3 separate regions of the Homo sapiens genome follow, and regions 1 and 2 are each linked to region 3. The links are contacts of gene promoters, found by promoter capture Hi-C in blood cells and fetal thymus (Javierre and others, 2016). All regions are on one chromosome and are shown on one strand. Each heading gives the region's core, a stretch centred on a gene start or on the middle of the fragment in contact. The rest is flanking DNA. Distances are from core to core; before and after follow the strand shown.

Region 1 (3,379 bases), core at 790-3,289, 770 kb after region 3:
TATTAAGAACATCTTTCCACTCTGGCAGGTGAAAACACTATTCCTAGCACTGTGTGAGATCTAAGAGTTGTTCTGCCTACTCCTTTGAAGTGGTTCAGCTCAGAACTCAACCAAAGGCTTGAGAGGATTCCTCTGTAGTTATCTAGAGCTCACTCTTTGCGCATCTCTCTTTTCTCTGGTACTCTGACCCACAAATCTTAGTCTTTGCCTTAGTCTTCTCAAACTCCACACTCTCTCCCTCTGAAGCTCAGTGAAACTGGCAGGCTCTGTCTGGGTTCCCCCTTCCTGCACTGCACCTTGGATAGTCTCTCCATGCATTAAGTAGGGGGAATTGTGGGGCTCGCCTAACTTATTCCCCTCCTCTCAGGAATCACTGTCTTGTGTTACCTGTTGTCCAATATCAGGAAGCCATTGTTCCATATATTTTCCCAGTTTGCCAGTTGTTTAAGATAGAAGAATAAATCCAGTCCCAGTTATACCATCATGAACAGAATCCAGAAGTCTGAAAATAGATATTAAACTAGCAGACAAATTCATTGTCTAAATATAAAATCCTAACAAATCTAAAAAGCAACTGCCAAAATAAGTGGCAAACTAACAGAATACAGTTACAAATACAAAAACCAATTGTGTTTCTACATACTACCAGTAAACATTCACAAAATAAATTTTTCACAATAACTTCAGTTATAAAAGCATCAAAAAATAAAGCACTTCAGGACAAATGTAACGAAAGACACGTAAGTCCTCTACACTGAAAACTGTAAAACATTGCTGAAAAAAATTAAGGCCTACATAAATAGAGTTGTACCCTATTTGTCATAGCCCGAGGGGTTCTTCTTGCCTGCTGCCCTGAAAAAAACAATGAGAACAGCAGGTGTTGCAGCAAAGAGTTTAATAATTGCAGGGCCAGCCAAGTGAGGAGAACGACAGACACTTTTCAAACTCATCCCCCCAAGAGTTCAGAGGCTAGAGTTTTTTAACTACTACTTTGGCAGGCAGGGGGCTGGAGAACTGAAACAACGGATTGGCTGGGGATGAAATTGCAGGGGTGTCTAAAACCATTTTCACACAGCCAGGTCATTTCCTGGGAAGCGGTCTCAGGACGAAGTGGCATCTCTTGGTCTCCTGAAATGCTAAATCTGAAAAATGTCTCAAAGACCAGTTCTTCAGGTTTTACAATAGTAATATTACCTACAGGAGAAGTTGGAGAAGCTCTAAATCTTGCGACCCCAGATACAAGACTCTGGGGCAGTAAGCAACTTATATAACAAAAACAAGCTAAGTAATGGCGGGTCATTGTTCAACTATGTCTATTCTTCAGCAAAGTTCAAGCCCCTACCATAATTTTAACTTTGTTTTATGAATGTGGTTTTAACTGTAAACTAAATTCCTCTTATAGTTATCTTGGCCCCCACATTAGAATGGACAAAAAAACAATTTAACTTGAGAGGTTGGAAGCAAGATGGAGTCAACCATATTAGACTTCTCTCATTACTTATAGTTCTGCAAAGGTGGTTTCATATTCATGAATTATAAGACTCAACATTAAGATGTCAATTTTCCCCAAATTTATCTACAGATTCATATCAACCCCAATTGTAACCCCAGCAGGATTTTTTTTTTTTTTTGATACAGGGTATCACTCTGTTGTCCAGGCTGGAGTGCAGTGGTGCAACCACGGCTCTCTGAAGCCTTGACCTCCTGGGCTCAAGCGATCCTCCCACTTTAGCCTCCCAAGTAGCTGGGACCATAGGCACAAGCCACCACGCTCAGCTAATTCTTAGGTTTTTTTGTAGAGACAGAGTCTCACCATGTTGCCCAAGCTGGTTTGAAATCCTGAGCCCAAGTGATCCTCCCATCTCAGCCTCCCAAAGTGCTGAGATTACACACGTGAGCCACTATGCCTTGCCCCAGCAGGATTTTTTAACAGAAATTGACAGGTTGCTTTTAAAGTGTATATGGAAATGCAAAGGACCTAGAATAGCCAAAACAATCTTGAAAAGAGAAGAAAGACTTATAATACCTTTCTTCAAGACTTAATATAAAACTAGAAGAATCAGGAGTGTGTTATTAGCTTAATAATAAAGATATCAACTAAACAGAATTAAGTCCAGAAACAGAACTACATTTATACAATCAACTGATTCTCAACAAAGCTCTGACGCAATTAAGAGAGGAAAAATAGTCAAACAATGTTATAGGAAGTCATTATATATCCATATGGGGAAAAAAAGGAACCTCAGTGCTACCTCAACTATACACAAAAATTAACTCAAAATAGATCACAGACCGGGCACACTGGTTCATGCTTGTAATCCCAACACTTTGGGAGGCCATGTTGGGAGAAGAGCTTGAGGCCAGGAGTTTGAGACCAGCCTGGGTACTATAGCAAGAGCCTGTCTCTAAAAAAATTTAAAAATAAATTACAGACATAAACATAAAACTATAAGGCTTCTTAGAAGAAAATACAGATAGAACCCAAACGCCCATCAAAAGGGAATGAATAAGATGAGAAATACGATAGTTCCCCACCCTTATCTGCAGGTGTGCTTTCTACAATTTCAGTTACCAGTAGTCAACCGAGGTCTGAAAATATCAGATGAAAAATTCCAGAAATAAACTACTCATAAGTTTTACATTGCATGCTGTTCTGAGTACTGTGATAAAATCTTGCACTGTCCTGCTCCATCCCACCTGGGACATAAATCACCCCTTCATCCAGTGGAAACACGCTGGGGACACTCCCTGCCCGTTAGTGTCCCTCTCAGTTATCAGATTGACTGCCACAGTACTGCAGTGCAAGTAACTCTTATTTTACTTAATAATGGCCACAAAGCGCAAGAGTAGTAATGCTGGCTATGCAGACATGCCAAAGAGAAGTGTAAAGTGCTTCCTTTAAATAAAAAGGTGAAGGTTCTTGACTTACTAAAAAAAAACAAAAAACAAAAAAACAAAACAAAACAAACAAACAAACAAAAAACAAAACAAGTATTCCGAGGTTGCTAACATCTATGGTAAGAATAAATCCTCTATCTGTTAAATTGTGAAGAAGGGAAAAGAATGTGTGCTAGTTTTGCTGTTGCAACTCAAACTGCAGAAGTTACTGCCATGGGCCACGGTAAGTGCTTCGTTAAGACAGAAAAGGCATTAAATTTGTGGGTGGAAGATATGAACAGAAACATATTCTCATTGAAGGCAACTGGGTTAGATGCTGTCTACAGCAGGGGCCTTGGAACATGTCCCCTGAGGAGAAGGGAGGGCTACTGTATTCATAAAATGTAATACTACCCCACCAAAACACAAAACAAAACCTACTACTGATACATACAAGTTCACAGATATTACAGTGAAAGAAATCAAACAAATGCAAAAGGAA
Region 2 (3,327 bases), core at 260-2,759, 830 kb before region 3:
TTCTGCACATGTATCCCAGAACTTAAAGTATAATTCAAAAATAATAATAATAATGAAAAGGAAGCTTACTACAAAACTTTCATTTCTCTTTTCCTAGGATATAGAATTTCTAAGTGGCCCTTAAATAATACAATAAAGCATACATAATTTGTAATAATCCTAACATAAAATATCAGTATATAATAGAGATAGGATAATACATAATGAAATGTTGGTTGAGACTTGAAACGTATCATTTATGATGGAGATATTAGGTTATAAAAATCCAAAAACATGTGAAAGATGAGAATTTGAAATGTCTTATTTTTATAACAAAAGAAGTTTAACTCTAAAATAGGAGATGACTTCATGGCCTGCAGCTGGAGTTAATTATCGTGGCAAAAACAAACGGGTCCCAAACTGACTAAAAATCAGTTGCTTGACCAGCCATTTACTGAAATATTTTGCTTATTGGTCTAGGGAGATCACTACAAGCCCAGAAAGATGTAAAAGGATGCATTAATACAACTAATGGAAGTTATCAAGTGGAATTATAGCCTTAGAGAAGAATAAAAATTATAGGAATAACAAAAGAAATGAAGTTTAAAAACTATTGTTATATTTTAGGATAGGTTTAAGAGTAAGCAATAGGTTTTGTAATAATTTTCTTTGGGTATATTTGCTACTTAAGGTGTTTGAGGTGCTCAAAAGACTTAGCTTAACTAAATCTGTAATTGTAGTTTAAATTTGTATAGGACTTAAGTAATTTTGTATAGGACTTGAGTAATTATGTTGAAATCACTATTCAAATGTTTGAATAGCTTTCTTTCTTTTTTTTATTTTTTTAAGACAGGGTTTCTTGCTCTGTCACCCAGGCTGGAGTGCAATGGGCGATCTTGGTTCACTGCAGCCTCCACCTCCCGACTTCAAGTGATTCTCCTGCCTCAGTCTCCTGAGTAGCTGGGATTACAGGCATGGGCCACCATGCCTGGCTAATTTCTGTATTTTTAGTAGAGATGGGGTTTCACCATGTTGGCTAGGCTGATCTTTGAACTCCTGTCCTCAAGTGATCCGTCCACCTCAGCCTCCCAAAATGCTGGGATTACAGGCATGAGCCACCAGGCCAGGCTCAAATTCTTTTTATTAGTTAATTAGTTAACTATTTGTGTGTAACAAATTACTAAATTATCCCACAACTTATGCTTTTTTTGGGTCAGGAATCCAGCCATGGGTGACTCTGACTTAGAGTTTCTCACAAGGATGCCTTTGGGGTGTGGGTGAGGGCTACAGTCATCTGAAGGCTCAGTTGGGGCAGACTCATATGCAGCCTCATGCACATGCTGTTGGCTGGTGTGAGGTCCTCACTCACTGTTAACAGGAGAAATGTCAATGCCTTGCCTCATAGACCTCTCCATAGAGCTACTCACTTCATGGCAGTTTGTTATTCTGTTTTCTGCTGGGGACGTGTATGTGGGAGAGGGGAGTGGGAGAGAAAGAGGGAGAGAAAGAGAAACAGAGATGCCAACTTGAGCACACACTCTGGGAAGAAGATTATACAATGGCATGAATACCAAGAAGTGGAATGATGACTGGAGTTATTTTAGAGAAAGTCAACCACAATTACATATCATACATTTGATAAAAATGATTCAAATGACAAATATTAGTAAATATTAGTCACCACTTGTGAAAGCCTTTGGTAAAATTTATAGTGGTAAATTTGCATTATGTATCCCCATTAAACTACACATTCCTGGAAATCATGCATGGAGACTTCATCTTTTTCATCAGCAGGGAATAGTACTACCATGTGGTAGGTACTCCAAAAACTCAGGTTGAAGAGATGAATGAATGAGCATTGTTTGAGTTTGTAATCTTCATTTTACATGGCTCCTGATAATTTTTAGAAATCCAAACAGCAAGAATGCTTTCTGACAACGTATAAGACTTGTGCTATTTGCCATCACCTTATAAATTTAATTTTGCTCATTACAGTTTTCAAAAGGTTTTTCACTTCTGATTCTGTAATTTTGTACTAGGCCACCAGATGGCATCACCACATAAACCAAGCTCTAAAATCAAGGCTTATTTGAAAATTAGTCTTGCTGGTCAGAATGAAGTAATAACTATATTCTCATAAACTGCTGTAGCAAATGTTAGTAGATAACTACTGCACACAAATTTAGCAAAATATATTGATAACCTTAAAAAATGGTAGTACTTTTTGAGCCAATGAGTCTACTAGAAATCTATCTTCAGAAAATAATGTGGACAAAATGGTACACACTCAAGATTTTACCTTAGCATTATTGGAATTGTCAAATACCAGGTAAAATCTTGGGTCCAACAATAATGAAAGGGTTAGTATATATGATACAATCATACAATTAAAAAACATACACACTTTCAAATGACTTATGAAGTATTCAATGACATGAGAAATGCTTCTGGCATAATGCTAATTTATGAATTGGGTTGTAAACTAATGTGTGATTCCCAGTATGTTGCATAGAAATTATAGAAAGGAAACATATTAATGTAATTTTATAAGGAAGTGTTTTTCTCTCTTCATATTTCTCCTTGTTACTCCAATTTTTAACAATGACTCCTTGGAACATCATATGTTAATAAGAAAAAATCAAGTTAACAATAACATAACATTAGTTTTTTAGGGCTGGGCATGGTGGCTCACTCCTGTAATCCCAGCCCTTTGGGAGGCTGAGGCAGGTGGATCACCTGATATCAGGAGTTTGAGACTAGCCTGGCCAACATGATGAAACCCCATCTCTACCAAAAAATACTAAAGTTAGCTGTGTGTGGTGGCTCACACCTGTAGTCCCAGCTTACTCAGGAGGCTGAGGCAGCAGAATCCCTTCAATTTGGGAGGCTGAGATTGCAGTGAGCTAAGAAGGCACCATTGCACTCCAGCCTGGGCCACAGAGCAAGACTCTGTGTCAAATAAATTAAAAGCTTTTTAGTACTTATAATTTAAAATTGTTTGTCTTCTACTATGTTAAACCATAAAAATATGCATTCATTCAGCCAGGCATGGTGGTTCATGCCTATAATCTCAGCACTTTGAGAGGCCAATGTGGGAAGATTGTTTGAGGCTAGGAGTTTGAGTCCAGCCTGGGCAACAAAGCAAGACCCTGTCTCTACAAAAAGGGAAAAATTTTAAAAATTAGCTGGGCATGGTGGCACATGCCCATAGTTCTTGCTACTCAGGGAGCCGAGATGGGAGGATTGCCTGAGCCCGAGAGACAATTCAAAGTAGAGGCTGCAGTGATCTATGATCAGGCCACTACACTGCGCCCTGGGCAACAGAGTGAAACCCTGTCCCAAACAAAA
Region 3 (3,200 bases), core at 373-2,872:
AAATGTACTGGTTATGCCTTTGGGAGGCTGAGGCGGGCAGATCACGAGGTCAGGAGATCGAGACCACCGTGAAACTCGTCTCTACTAAAAATACAAAATATTAGCCGGGCGTGGTGGCGGGCGCCTGTAGTCCCAGCTACTCGGGAGGCTGAGGCAGGAGAATGGCATGAACCCGGGAGGCAGAGCTTGCAGTGAGCCGAGATCGCGCCACTGCACTCCAGCCTGGGTGACAGAGTGAGACTCCGTCTCAAAAAAAAAAAAATTATTGGTTATGCAACCACCTGCAGATAATAAAACCTCTAAAAGTCAGTTTTTCATGTATGTAGTAGGTATTGTCTAGTCACATACAAACAGTTGGAACAGCCCAGAAAAGGGAGAGAGTGTCATGCAGTCTTAAGAGACAGAGGTCGGTGCTCAAGCCTCATCCAGGGTCAGAAGTTGGTCTTTATAGGAGGGATCCCTAAATGCCACAAAGCCAGGATCTGTTCTCTAGTTATTTAATTAACCTAAGTTAAATTTCTTGGATGAGGGGTAGGGATGGGGTGACTGCAGTTTAGATTAATTCTGCAGAATGCACTTGAGTGGGTATTGAAAAAACCAGTTTTTCCATATGCAGATTTCCAGTTAATCTACTAGTCATAAGCTAATGGATCCTGCCATTTTTCATATCTGACATTTCTATGTCCTATGACGGTTTCACAGGTAGCTAGGCTCTCCTCCATTATTTCCCTCTGTATGGTGTTGGCTGCATTTTTCTCTGATTTTACTTCTTCATCAATGATCACATCTCCATCTACTCTCCATTTTCCAGGAATTAGTTGAAATTTTTCATCAACTAATAGGACCCTGAGCCTTTGTGTTATTGTTTTAGACTAACAAATTTTTATTCACTTAATTCAATTTTAGTGGAATTTTAGAAGAAATAGGAGATAAAATCTATGTTTGCTATGTTGTATTCGATAGTAAATTTCTGAACACCTCATTTTAAAATTAGATTTTTTTCTTTTATGTCATTACCTTGAATTATTTTAACAGAGTTATTTCTGTTTCTTAAATATATATTTTTTAGTTCAGAAGTCCTCTGCATAATTCATGTTTTACCTCAGTTTAATGTTAATATTATAAAGCATACAGGAAAGCAAATAGCTTTCAGAATTTTTAAGGTATTATCTAGACAATACAATGCATTTAGAGAGGAGGATAAAAGACATAGGGCCCCTTTCTGTAACTTTCGTAATAAAATCCCTTCTTTTTCTTGTTCTGTTTCCCAAATAGCTATCCTACTTTGGAGAAGATGCTGGAAATTCAGAGTTTCCGCCAGAGAATATATGCCTGAACTAAAAGAGGAAGTGGTCTATAGGAGAAAATGGTGAGATATCTTCTGTGGTATTAATAAAAGTTAAAAGCATTTCAAGTTTAGGCAGAAAACTAACTGAAAAACGAGAACCTACTGTATGGTTAGTAATTTCTTCCATGTCATACAAGTATTCGAGAAATCTGCTACCTTGATTAGTAAGACTGAACACATTGGTTTTGTCATTTATTCATGGAGGAAGTCCACCACCCACTTGGGGAGCAGAAGGAAATTTGCCATCTCAATTTACTTATCAGAAGTTTCTTTGCAGAAATATGATTGTCCCTTCAGTGGGACATCATTTGTGGTCTTCTCTCTCTTTTTGATCTGTGCAATGGCTGGAGATGTAGTCTACGCTGACATCAAAACTGTTCGGACTTCCCCGTTAGAACTCGCGTTTCCACTTCAGAGATCTGGTAAGCTGGATTTAGGGTGCCTTTGAGAATTAAGATTTTACTAGTTATCTCCTTTATTTCTTTCTTATGTATCTAATTGCCAAACTGAAAAGAGGAGATTGGATTCAAAGCAAAATTCATTGAATGCTAAGAATAAGAGCGAATGTTTTTAATGAAGCAAAATGTCTGTTCATAAAATAAATTGCCACTTTGGTTTTAATATGTAGAACTTTGCTTCTGTTTTCATAGCCTTTCTATTTCTTGATTTCTCGTGATGAATGTTTATATTCACACAGCAACTTCTAGCGGGATCACGCCTTTCTGCTCCACAGCTTTGCTCACTCTCAATCAAATCTGACCTTTTAACATAATGTGATAAATTCATCTCCACTGGGAAAAATACCTGTGGCAATTTACTCATATTGTTATTTATTCTTTTACAATATCAATAGGATAAAAATGTAAACTTAAGAAAACATGAAACGTTAGATTTAATTTTATAAAGTCTAGAATTAATGACTAGGTAATTGAATATTTCTGGAATCAGAGGCGATAAGCATATGCCTAAACTTAACATGGTGCCTTCATCACCAAACCCCCTCAAAAATTATAGATTTTCATAGCCAGTGTCTTTTCTATTCTTTGAAGTATTAAGGAAATTTCTCTGTCTTGTTACATTTCCATTCTCTGCTCTAGGGTAAGAATTTTTGTAGCATAGAGTTTATGTAGGTGTTTTAAATAATTTAAAGTTCCTCCTTTGTATTTGCCCTTGTGGAATGAATCTGCTACTTTGTTCGTATTTCCAAGGAATGTATTTCTTCTTTATATTTTCAAAAGTTTATAGTTATCAAAGGAATCTAGTGTGTGTCCTTTTCTGGTTGTAAAAGCATCTTGTTTCTTATTTTAAACCTTACCTCTCTATTTTACCCAGCAGAGGCTAACTTGCTTTCTTTTCTTCCAGCTTAGGCACTTTCACTTCCTATGAAATAGTGAAACATAATTTGAAAAATAACATGGACTAGAACTGCACTGTCATTCCCCTATGCTTCAAAAATGTCCTGTAGTTAGTTTCTTTTTCTAGAGGTTATTTTACTCAGTTTAAGCAACAAAACCAATATTTTTGATTCCGCATTCCAGGGTTTAATTGCCTTTCTGTCTATGGTTTGAACTTTTATAAATAAAACCTTATTCTTTTCCCAGTTTAGGGATGTGGGGCAACATCTTTTAATGTGATCTAGTTCAATCTTAGAATGCTAAAAATGAGAAAACGAACTATATGAAGATTAAATTACCTACCTATAGTCATGCTTATGACCAGAAGTCAAATATCATATTGTTCTTGTGCTGTATACGTGTGGTGTTAGATAAACGCAACTTTTGTTCTCATGCGTCACTTCGCCATCAAGCGAAAGAGCTGTTGGATAGATTAGATTTTTGTTGTCTTACATACA

Evidence for each region. Contacts are between HindIII fragments. The CHiCAGO score rates a contact against its expected background, and 5 or more counts as called.
Region 1: a contact is called between a fragment that was not itself captured here and the fragment with the promoter of CLECL1 in region 3, in 1 of 17 cell types (activated CD4 T cells). The highest score is 6.6, in activated CD4 T cells.
Region 2: a fragment that was not itself captured here is called in contact with the fragment with the promoter of CLECL1 in region 3 in 1 of 17 cell types (neutrophils); the score reaches 5.3 in neutrophils.

Annotation. Positions count from the first base shown.
Region 1 is chr12:8,957,109-8,960,487 of GRCh38, reverse strand. It overlaps a transcript of KLRG1 not described here. Among named protein-coding and RNA genes, the nearest start is that of M6PR, 9.2 kb to the right of the region's middle. The HindIII fragment of the contact is 4,249 bases long and covers 1-3,379 here.
Region 2 is chr12:10,561,207-10,564,533 of GRCh38, reverse strand. The region is part of intron 1 of LINC02446 (long intergenic non-protein coding RNA 2446); the gene reads right to left. Among named protein-coding and RNA genes, the nearest start is that of LINC02446, 9.5 kb to the right of the region's middle. The HindIII fragment of the contact is 2,885 bases long and covers 67-2,951 here.
Region 3 is chr12:9,731,519-9,734,718 of GRCh38, reverse strand. CLECL1 (C-type lectin like 1) reads left to right here and starts at 1,622. Exons shown (of 2, transcript NM_001441815.1): 1 at 1,622-1,770. The coding sequence starts at 1,689. The HindIII fragment of the contact is 6,540 bases long and covers 1-3,200 here.